Linked DNA regions of Homo sapiens: regions 2, 3 and 4 are each linked to region 1. The links are contacts of gene promoters, found by promoter capture Hi-C in blood cells and fetal thymus (Javierre and others, 2016). All regions are on one chromosome and are shown on one strand. The core of a region is centred on a gene start or on the middle of the fragment in contact, and the rest is flanking DNA. Distances in the headings are between cores, read along the strand shown. Region 1 holds the start of UBE2G2 (ubiquitin conjugating enzyme E2 G2). Region 2 overlaps CFAP410 (cilia and flagella associated protein 410). Region 3 overlaps ADARB1 (adenosine deaminase RNA specific B1). Region 4 overlaps LINC02575 (long intergenic non-protein coding RNA 2575).

Region 1 (2,589 bases), core at 37-2,536:
ATACCACGCCACCTTATAGTAGGGACTTGAGCATCCGAGGATTCTGGTATCTGCAGCGGGGCCTGGAACCAATCCCCTCCAGATACCAAGGGAAGAATGACCATACGTGAGTGAGCCTGTATTTGCAACGTTTTGGTCTGCTTAAGCCAAACATCAACTCTTACTGGGCGGTGTCACCAATAGTTTTACGAAATCAAGCTACATGTATATTCACCACTTATTTTTTTTCTCACATTCATTCTTTTAGCTTAACTTTCTTCCAAAATTATCCTCAATCTAATTACAAAAGCAGCAGCTAACTTTATTAAGGGTTACACATCAGGTATTTTGCTAAGCACTTCACCTGCAGTATCAAGTTTAACCTTTTAAGACAAGGAAACTGCAGAGACAGAGAGAGGAACAAGGTCAAAGAGCTAACAAGCAGAGAGGCCGGGTCTGAACTCAGGCCCTGCTCTTAGCCGGCTACTATCTCGTCTCCATCGGCGACTCAGGCTCCTGGCGCTTTCAACACAATGGTATTCCAAGACTTCTCGCAGCAGTTCTTCCAAGCGGGCATTCGGTGTAAAACGATGGAATGCCGAGTGTTCCTAGGTTCTCATTTCTCCCTTCGCTCTCCTCAGACATTAGAAATATCTAATTTACCGGGTAGGAAAGCACTCAAGAGGTTTCCTCAACACTACCTAGGAGGAGTGACAGGTGGCACTGTTCAAAAACCCTTTTCCTTCATTAGAGGGAAAGCCAAAATCTGACCTTTCAAAGCTCCACCAACGAGCCTTTCCCCTTTTAACGCATACACTTTTCCCTCCTAATTCCGCAGCAGCAAGTCAGGCCTTCTTCCTCAAGCTCTCACTGCACGTTCTCAAGGCTGCCAAGAAAAGAAAAAATAGAAGAGAAAAAAACAAGCCCGCAAAGACTCAACTGTGTGTGCTCTCAACTAACACGGCGCCGGCGCTGCCTTTACTGATGCTGGGAAGGCTTCTCTTCACGACTTCACGCGTGAGAGTGGGCAGCGGGCGCAGGGCGCGGCACTCCGCGGGACCCACAGGGGGGCTCACGGTGGAGGCCCCGGGCCCGGCTCCCCCGCCAGGCTCCCTGCCCCAGCCCCGCCGGACGACGCGGGCCCGGGAGCAGGAACGCGGGACGCTGCTGACGGCCCGGGTCCCCAGACTCACGTTTGTACTCGGCCATCAGCCTCTTGAGCGCGGTCCCCGCCATGGCCCCGCAACAGCTGCGCCGAGCGACCTCGCCTCAGCCGCGCGCGTGCCTCCTGCCCCGACACCGGGGACTGCTTCCGGGCCACCGTCGCGGGCCCAGGAACTCTTCCGGGGCGTGGCGCGTGCGCGATCGCCGAGGCGCGCTGTCCGGGTGGTGGGAGCTCAACCCGCGACCGCGGCTACGATTCTCTTGGCTCCTGCCCTCGCCTTAGTCGCTCTGCGGGGTTGGTTCGGTCCCGGCACTTCCAGAGGCCTCAGGGTCCTGGTCTTGTAGAGACTTCCTGAACGGTGGCGCCTGTTCCAGTGTGTGTGCGCTAACTGCCTGTTCTGTGCCAGCCGCGCGTGGCCGAAGGGCGGGAGGACGGGGGTTGTGGAGGGGAGGATGGAGGTTGGGGAGACAGGGCGGGGACGAGATAAGAGGTCGGGGGGTGGGGAGGATGGTCGCGGGGCGGTCTGGGGCTGGAGACAAGGGGCCTGAGGTGCGGGTACGCACTGAACATTCCAACCGTCCCCAGCCGGCCGGGTTTCAGGTTTGAAAAGGTGGGAAGGTTAGCTGTCCTGGCGCTTTTCCTCCACGTGTTGTGCGGCTCCGCTGGAGTTCGGGTCCAGCACCTTCTACTCCGAGGGAGAGAGCCGCGGGGAGAGCCCTGTTCGGGCCCGCGGCTCGAACTGACCGCCGGCTCTGCCGAGCAGCCTCGACCCCAGGGCACCCCCGGGAGAGAGGGCGCGGCTCAGGTCCCTGCCCGAACCCCTGGGGTGCTGAGAGACTCCCCAGCGCCCCGCGTGGGCTCCCGGCCTCTCCACAGTTGAGGATCCTGTAAGGGGCGAGCCCTTTTTCCCATAATGGCTGTAGTGAGTGGGTGTGCTTTCCCGATTGACCCGCTGTGAGGTGAGCGATTTTAACCCACATCCTTACTGACTTCACAGCACAGTAGGTGCTTCGTGGCTGTCCGGTGCAAGGATGTATATACACACACACCTTTGCAAAAAAAGTTTGCATCTCTTGCCTGGCTGTTTGTTGCAATAATCTATCATTTGTCTTTTCCTTTCCAGCATTGCAGATGATCCCTTGAAAAGAAGTCTGATCACATTCACACTCTGCTCCGCCCATTTCACTCAGTAAAGCTGAAGTCCTGCAGTGCTTTGCTCTGCCTCCGGTCACCCCGCCATACTCCCAGACCCTCCCTCCCTCTCACTCCACTCCAGCTGCCCTGGCCTGGTTCAGAGTCCCTGACTCTTCCCTCCCCGGAAACACTTTCTGGCGGCTCTTGTCCCCGACTCTTCCCACCTGCTCTTTCAGTCTTTGCTCAAATGTTGCCTCTTCAGTGTGGCCTAGGCCGTCACCACCCGGCCTTCACCGCATACCTTTTTCTCT
Region 2 (2,589 bases), core at 1-2,500, 470 kb before region 1:
GGAGCACACAGGCCAAGGGTGGGCAGGCGTACAGCAGGGCAGGCAGGGGACAGGAGCCATCAGGAGGCCCAGGTGAGGCTCTGAGGAAGGAGGGCTGAACATGGGGGCCACAGGGTAGGCCCAGCTCTCGCTGTCCCGGCCCCTCCCCTTCTGGAAGCCGCCCTCAGTCTGTGTTGGAGGTTTCCAGGTTATGTCACAGTGCTGGGTCCCACTGGAGGGACGTGAGGCTCTGCCCCGGCTTCCAGGCCCCAGGCTGAGCATGACAGCAGGAGCGAGGTACCTGAGCGTGATCACCTCCAGGCTGGGCATCTCCTGGCAAATGGAGATCTAGGAGGAAAAGAACATGACTAGCAAGCATGGCACAGCAGGGCATCGCGGCCGCACTGCCATCAGCCACAGAGAACTGTCGAAGCCACGGCCAACCCACTTCCGGGGCCTGAGGGGCACGGCCTTACTCAGCCAGTGTGCCCAGGGTGAATGCCCAGGGCCTGAGGGGAGCGGCCCTGCTCAGCCAGTGTGCCCAGGGTGAATGCCCAGGGCCTGAGGGGAGCGGCCCTGCTCAGCCAGTGTGCCCAGGGTGAATGCCCAGGGCCTGAGGGGAGCGGCCCTGCTCAGCCAGTGTGCCCAGGGTGAATGCCCAGGGCCTGAGGGGAGCGGCCCTGCTCAGCCAGTGTGCCCAGGATGAATGCCCACGAGTATGCCAGGTTCTCCTCTGACACCACCTTGCAGCCCAGACGCCCCGCAGACTGAAGGAGAAATGTGAGGCTCCTCCTTGCACGCACTCTGTCTTTATTAAATTTTACGACAGCATCGTTGCTGTCAGATGCTGCCAGCAGTGGAGACAGAGCATTCATTACTTTAGATGCCCTCAAAGGACATCAGGTAAGGGGACCCCAATGTCCCCTACGCAGGGATAGAAAGCAAGGAAAGGATGGAAATCCCTTCTTGATAACAGGTCTAGGCCAAAAGGAAGACAGGCTTGAGACTGGATCTCAGATCACATTGGTACTGTCAATTCAGGGGTGAGGTGCCCGGGGTGGTCCACAAAGCCTCACAACCTGCAAAGCTCCCACATATGTGAGAGCCCACCATACGCCAGGCATGGCACCAGCAGCTCACAGCCTGGTCAGATGCGTCCCATGTATAAGTGACTCGTGTCTATGGACATGGTACGTTTGTATATTCACTGCTAAACATGCAGTATTTCAGTTACAGCACAAAACAGATTACACCCAGATGCCACGTATCCAGGCTTTTTTTTGTCTTTAAGAAAAGGTACAGTTCAAATTAAAAAAACAAAGGAAAATAAAGAGATAAATAATTGCGCTGGACATGGTGGCTCATACCTGTAATTCCAATACTTTGCGAGGCTGAGGCAGGTGGATCACCTGAACTCAGGGGGTTTGAGACCAGCCTGGCCGACACAGTGAAACTCCATCTCTACTAAAAAGTACAAAAATTAGCCAGGCATGGTGGTGGGTGCCTGTAGTCCCAGCTACTCAAAGGCTGAGGCAGGAAAATTGCTTGAACCCGGGAGGCAGAGGTTGCAGTGAGCCAAGATCGTGCCACTGTACTCCAGCCTGGGCAACAGAGAGAGACTCCGTGTAAAAAAAAAAAAAAAAGAAAGAAACAATTGGTATGCGATCCCTGTGTAAGTTGGGGACATTTTGGACTGAGAAAGACAATGAGGGAGAGAAGAAAAAAATCTTTCACAGACGCACACACTCAAGTTCTCCCAGCAGGGCTTATTCTCTGCCTGCCTTTGGGGCAGCGGCAAGGGGGTACAAGGCTAGATGTGACCAAGAAGAGGGGGTGTAGACCTTCAACTTCCCCGTAACAAAGTAAAACAAGCCCTCCTGGGATTCCTTTCCAGGTGAGAGCAAGTTCCAAACTATTGCTCCCCTCCTCTGCGACCAAGTGACAAAGGGTGTTTCATTTATAGGGATGTTGACGGGAACTGCAAAATAAGCCTGGCACTAGAGAATTGTTTTTCCATTAGTGGTTCTGCAGAATGAAAACCGCTAAGTGAACAAAGTACCAAGTGTGGGACTGAATTGATAGGTGCAGTTTTGTCAACTTAAAAATTCTCTTGGGAAAGAAGCTACAACATTTGGGTTGAGGCTATTTGGAGATGATCAGTGCAATACTTACATCTGTGAGGCAATACTTACATCTGTGAGGCGGCTGCCCCTGGGGAGAGAAAAGATACATACTTTAATTTTGTTAAAGTTGAATAAAAAACACTGAAGACAAAAATTCCAAAAATCACCGATGACTCCCTACAAACCTTAAGATTCTAGGATTTTAATGGCATGGCAAAAAAGGAAGGTTGCCCAGATAACTGGCAAAGGTGTAAACAATTGTTTTAGCTGATTTTCAACTAAACTGTATGTTTGACGTTGGGGTGGTACTTTTTAGATAAGGAGCAGCAGGGTTGCTCCATTTGTAAGACACAAAAAGATGAACTCTTCCTCATGGTCCCTGAGTAGCAGAAGGTTCATTTCTCTCACTGACAGACATAAACAAGGGCGTCTTTATAAGAGGTCAAGTTCAAAGGGTGAACAGGCAACTTATGAAGCAAACTTTAAA
Region 3 (2,589 bases), core at 51-2,550, 330 kb after region 1:
GACTGCCCATAGCCCCTGCCCTGTGGCCCTCTTCCCAGCATGGCAGTTTGCCTCTCAAGGCGTATAGGCAGGGTCTCCCCTCTTCCTTTCCTCTCTGACTTCTCTCATCCTTCAGGGGTTTACCTGATCAGGCCAGGCCCACCCAGGAAAATCTCCCTTTTGATGAACTCAGTCAGCTGATGAGATGCCTTAATTGCATCTGTAAAATCCCTTCACCTTTGCCTTATGTAACACTATATCCCATCATGTTCACAGTTCCTCCCGCCTGCAAGGCAGGGGAGTGTACAAGGTGTGTACCCCAGGGGCAGGATGCTAACACTGCACTGACTGAGAAAAGAATTTGTCTTACCTGTACCTGACAGGTGTGTACCTGAAAGAGGTGTGTGCCCGACGGTGTGTGCGACCGATGGGTGTATGCTCGACAGTGGTGTGTGCGCCCACCGGGTGTGTGCCCGACGGTGTGTGCGCCCGATGGGTGTGTGTGCCCGACAGTGGTGTGTGCGCCCGATGGGTGTGTGTGCCCGACAGTGGTGTGTGCGCCCGCCGGGTGTGCGCCCGACGGGGGTGTGTGCCCGACAGTGGTGTGTGCGCCCGACGGGGGTGTGTGCCCGACAGTGGTGTGTGCGCCCGACGGGGGTGTGTGCCCGACAGTGGTGTGTGCGCCCGACGGGGGTGTGTGCCCGACTGGTGTGTGCGCCCGACGGGTGTGTGTGCCCGACAGTGGTGTGTGCGCCCGATGGGTGTGTGTGCCCGACAGTGGTGTGTGCGCCCGCCGGGTGTGTGCCCGACAGTGGTGTGTGCCCGACAGTGGTGTGTGCGCCCGACGGGGGTGTGTGCCCGACAGTGGTGTGTGCGCCCGCTGGGTGTGTGCCCAACAGTGGTGTGTGCGCCCGATGGGTGTGTGTGCCCGACAGTGGTGTGTGCGCCCGCCGGGTGTGTGCCCGACAGTGGTGTGTGCCCGACAGTGGTGTGTGCACCCGACGGGGGTGTGTGCCCGACAGTGGTGTGTGCGCCCGCCGGGTGTGTGCCCGACAGTGGTGTGTGCGCCCGACGGGGGTGTGTGCCCGACAGTGGTGTGTGCGCCCGATGGGTGTGTGTGCCCGACAGTGGTGTGTGCGCCCGACGGGTGTGTGCGCCTGACAGGAGTGTGTCTGACATGGGTGTGTGAGCGCCCGGCAGGGGTACGTACACTCGGGGTGTGTGTGCCTGACGTGTGTGTGTGTCTGACATGGGTGTGTGCACCTGGCAGAGGTGTGTGCGCCCAGCAGAGGCATATGCCTGACAGAGGCGTGGCTTAGTGTTCAGGGTCCATAGTACATGAAGAATCCTACAGATCCCTATGGACAAGGCAGTACAGTAGAATTTGGGGCAAAAGACTTGCACAGATTTTTTTTTTTTTTTTTTACACAAGATGAAATTGAAATGGCCAATGAGCACACCCTCATTCATCCAGCGAGCATTGAGGACCCCCTAGAGGCCAGGCCCATGAGTGATGAAGATCCCGAGGATGAAGACGCCTTGCCAGCCAGGTCAGTGGGTGATGGCATTTGTGGTCAGGGGCACCCAGCACCACACCCCTGGCTGCCGTTGACAGCTGGGTGAGTCCCCTGCTGCCTGGGCAGAGCCACCTCTGCAGATGCCCAGGTGGGTCTCCTGGGGCAGGGACTGGCAGGCTGTAGCCTGTGAGCAGATTCTGGGACCTGAAAGCTAAGGATGGTTTTTACATTTTTAAGGAGTTATAAAACAAACAGAAAAGGAAGAATCTGCAACAGAGACCATAAGTGGTCTGCAAAGCCAAAGGTTTATAGAAATGGGCAGACCTGCTCTAAGGGGCCTGCTTGCTGATGGGGCCTTGTCTGGATTGCCAGTTCTACTAATTCTGGAATTGGAAGTTCTCATGGAGGACTGTGTGCTGGGTAGGATTTCCAGATCCCAAGATGCTTTGGCTGCATTCAAACCCACAGGGCAGAGAGAGCCCTCCGCCCTGTTCCTTGGCAGAGGCCTCCACACTCCGTGTGCTGACCGGCCTGCCAGAATGACAACAACTGTCAGCTGTCTGCATCCTCCTGGCACCCCTTAGTGTGGCTGCATACTGAGGGGAGTTAAAACCATAAACAGGTGGAGAATATCTCCTTCCAGGGAATCTCAGAGGACTCAGTGATTTAAGAGGAAAAGACCAAACTGCTGCTTTCAGCAGGACCACTGTGTGCTGCCTGCCTGTCAGTGCATACAGATACGGGGTCCTGAGTTGGTGACCTCAAAACCGTGAGCGGTAGATAGACAGAGTAGCCCCTAATGAAGCAGAAAGACTAGAAGAGACAGGACCTAATTTAGGTCGAAAAGCAAAGTGAGGCCTCAGAAGATGAAGGCAGAGTGCGAGAAAGGCTTTCTGGAACTGACAAGTCTGCCATCCACATTTCGAAATGTATTAGAAAAATTGGAAAAAAAACATATGAAGTGTAGAATGTCAGCAGAAAGGTGTGGCCACAGTCAAGAGGGCCCTCTGTGGGTCCTGTGGTCCTGGACTGCAGGTGGGCCCAGTGGAGACTGTGCTGCCCCTCACCCTCCCCGGTGGGTCCTCTGTGATGG
Region 4 (2,589 bases), core at 29-2,528, 310 kb before region 1:
CTGGATATTAGCTCTTTGTCAGATGAGTAGGTTGTGAAAATTTTCTCCCATTTTGTAGGTTGCCTGTTCCCTCTGATGGTAGTTTCTTTTGCTGTGCAGAAGCTCTTTAGCTTAATTAGATCCCATTTGTCAATTTTGGCTTTTGTTGCCATTGCTTTTGGTGTTTTAGACATGAAGTCCTTGCCCATGCCTATGTCCTGAATGGTAGGGCCTAGGTTTTCTTCTAGGGTTTTTATGGTTTTAGGTCTAACGTTTAAGTCTTTAATCCATCTTGAATTGATTTTTGTATCTTTTTTCCTTTTCTAAGTGAGAGGGCTCCCCTCCCAACTCTGTTTCTGATGGGGAAGTTAGCAGAGGACCAGCGACCCCTGCTGGCGGAGAGCTGCAAATTTGGCAGGGCACATTTGAGACACTCTCAACAGATAGAACCAGCCTCTAAAATATCTTTTCAGTCCCAAACTCGATTCCAAGCTTCAGGCTGAGGTCTTAGAAAGAAAAAACAGGTCTGAGGGATCCAAAGCCAGGGAACAGGCACAATGTAAATGGGTAGCACCAATTCCTGCTGACTAAACCCCCCACCCTATGGAAGGAGGCCATGCTTCATGGCATAAACAGGCCCAGGGAACTGAAGGTTTGCCGACAGCAGGGAGAAAGGGAGGCATAGGCAAGGGCGGTTCGTTCCTAGTCTCCAGGTTTTCCCTGCTTCATGGGTACATACCACATTAGTACCCATGGCTGGCACCTGCCAAGGTCGCCAGGGCTCAGGGATAAGGAGTGGAGACTGAAAGGATCATGCTCGCTTTCTCTCTCCATCACACCCTGAGTTTTCGCTGAAAGAAGGAAGAGAATGAGGGGCTTCTCTATTCACTGTCTCCAGTTCTCTTCAACACCCCCAGTTTATACTCCTCTGTAGTGTACCCTGAACCATCGGGACTGCTTTGACCCTCAGAATCTGCAGGAGAAACACCTCAGAGCCCTCTGCACAAAGGTTTGGCCAAATTATGAAGGACTGGGTTGGCCCTAGGAAGGAATCATTCATTTCCATACCATTCGGCTGTTGAGACTTTTCTGTAGATGTGAGGACAGATGGCCTGAGGCCCCGTATGTGCAGGGCCTTTCTATACCTTGCAAGGAAATCCAGACCTTGCCGACAGTGTAGGATTCATCCAGCCCTCCTGTTTGCCATCTCAGAGAAGGCTGCAAGGGGTAAGCCCAGGGAATTAAAGATACGAGTCCTAGAGGCACCCCGGAAAGAGAGGCCAGCTCCCTCAAGCCCTGCTCCTCTGGGTCCACCCCGACCTCCCTATCCAGCTTCAGCCTCTCACTTGGCCCCTCCTACAAATTCTCACTCTAAACAAGCCCCAGTCTCACTCTTGCTCCTCCAACAGATGCCTGGTGAATTTGGGCCAGCAAGGTCCAGGTCCCCTTCTCCTTACAGGACTTAAAGTAAATTAAGGGGGGATCTGGGCAAGTTTTCAGATGATCCTCATAGGTATATAGAGGCTTTCTAGAATTTCAACCAAATAGTTGAACTCTCCTGGAGAGAGACGTTATGTTACTTTTGAATCAGACTGTGATAGACACTGAGAAACAGGCCACTCTACAAGCTGCAGAGAGATTTGGGGATGAGCTTTGCATCACATGTAGCATCAGGAAAGGGGGTGAATATTATCCAACCGGAAGAGAAGCAGTACCAGTGAATGACCGTAAATGGGACCCCAATCATGAGATGGAAGCCGGGCGGAGGAGACACTTTCAGGTGTGCGTAATAGAAGGCTTACGTAAGACTAAGAACAAGTTGTCCATGATCAACCAGGAATTTGATGAAAATCCAATCGCCTTCTAGGAAAGGCTAAGAGAGGCCTTGGTAAAGCTCACCTCTCTCTCTCCTGGTTCAGTTGAGGGACAGTGAATCCCAAAGCATAACTTTATTACTCAGGCGGCTCCTGACATCAGGAGGAAGTTGCAAAAACTGGGCCATTGGACCAGATAGTACATTAGAGGACCTCCTAAAAGTGGCCACCTCAGTCTTTTATAATAGAGACGGAGGCCCAGGACAGTGAGAGGAGACACAGGAAAGAGACAAAAGCTTCAGTGGCCACCGTGTACGTCCACAAACCCCAGAATTCCCAGGGTGCACCTGTTAACTGCTAAAGATATGGCAAGAATAGTTACTTCATTCTAAAGTTTATTTGCTCTTGTACAAGGTTTAATTTCTTGCACCAGGGGTGAAACAGCTCAGGGTGCAACTTTGCTGTTAGTATATTTCACTTCTTATCTTTGTGATCTTTGGGAGTACATTCTTTCTTTTTATAACACACATGTTTAACCCATGCATACTTAACCTTATAAAACCTGGGTTTTTTTTTTTCTCTCATGCCTAGAACCATCAAACTCCAAGTGGACAGGCAACTGGAGCCTCAGATAATGACTCCCCTTTGCTAGGAACCCTTAGACAGACCTCTGGGAGGAATTTGACTGCCGTTTTCTCAAAAACAACGCCCCCTGTCAGCGGGAAGCAGCTAAGACAGGTCATCGTCCATATTCTAATAGCAGTTAGATGTACGTTTTCAGAGAGGGGAAATGATA

What was found. The method cuts DNA at HindIII sites, captures the fragments that hold promoters and counts their contacts. A CHiCAGO score of 5 or more calls a contact.
Region 2: a fragment that was not itself captured here is called in contact with the fragment with the promoter of UBE2G2 in region 1 in 4 of 17 cell types (total CD8 T cells, neutrophils, naive CD8 T cells and 1 more); the score reaches 7.5 in total CD8 T cells.
Region 3: a fragment that was not itself captured here is called in contact with the fragment with the promoter of UBE2G2 in region 1 in 1 of 17 cell types (megakaryocytes); the score reaches 5.8 in megakaryocytes.
Region 4: a contact is called between a fragment that was not itself captured here and the fragment with the promoter of UBE2G2 in region 1, in 1 of 17 cell types (naive CD8 T cells). The highest score is 5.0, in naive CD8 T cells.

What each region holds. Positions count from the first base shown.
Region 1 is chr21:44,800,534-44,803,122 of GRCh38, forward strand. UBE2G2 (ubiquitin conjugating enzyme E2 G2) reads right to left here and starts at 1,287. Exons shown (of 6, transcript NM_003343.6): 1 at 1,173-1,287. The coding sequence starts at 1,215. LINC01424 (long intergenic non-protein coding RNA 1424) reads left to right here and starts at 1,708. Exons shown (of 2, transcript NR_109928.1): 1 at 1,708-2,103. RefSeq lists an enhancer at 513-1,468 and silencers at 1,016-1,075, 1,136-1,355, 1,856-1,905. The HindIII fragment of the contact is 6,659 bases long and covers 1-2,589 here.
Region 2 is chr21:44,335,478-44,338,066 of GRCh38, forward strand. It overlaps CFAP410 (cilia and flagella associated protein 410), which reads right to left. Exons shown (of 7, transcript NM_004928.3): 2 at 2,172-2,190; 3 at 281-327. Among named protein-coding and RNA genes, the nearest start is that of CFAP410, 2.6 kb to the right of the region's middle. The HindIII fragment of the contact is 2,953 bases long and covers 1-2,589 here.
Region 3 is chr21:45,133,304-45,135,892 of GRCh38, forward strand. All of the region lies in intron 2 of ADARB1 (adenosine deaminase RNA specific B1), which reads left to right. Among named protein-coding and RNA genes, the nearest start is that of ADARB1, 60 kb to the left of the region's middle. RefSeq lists enhancers at 210-710, 711-1,211. The HindIII fragment of the contact is 4,546 bases long and covers 1-2,589 here.
Region 4 is chr21:44,487,647-44,490,235 of GRCh38, forward strand. The region is part of intron 1 of LINC02575 (long intergenic non-protein coding RNA 2575); the gene reads left to right. Among named protein-coding and RNA genes, the nearest start is that of LINC02575, 3.4 kb to the left of the region's middle. The HindIII fragment of the contact is 1,618 bases long and covers 470-2,087 here.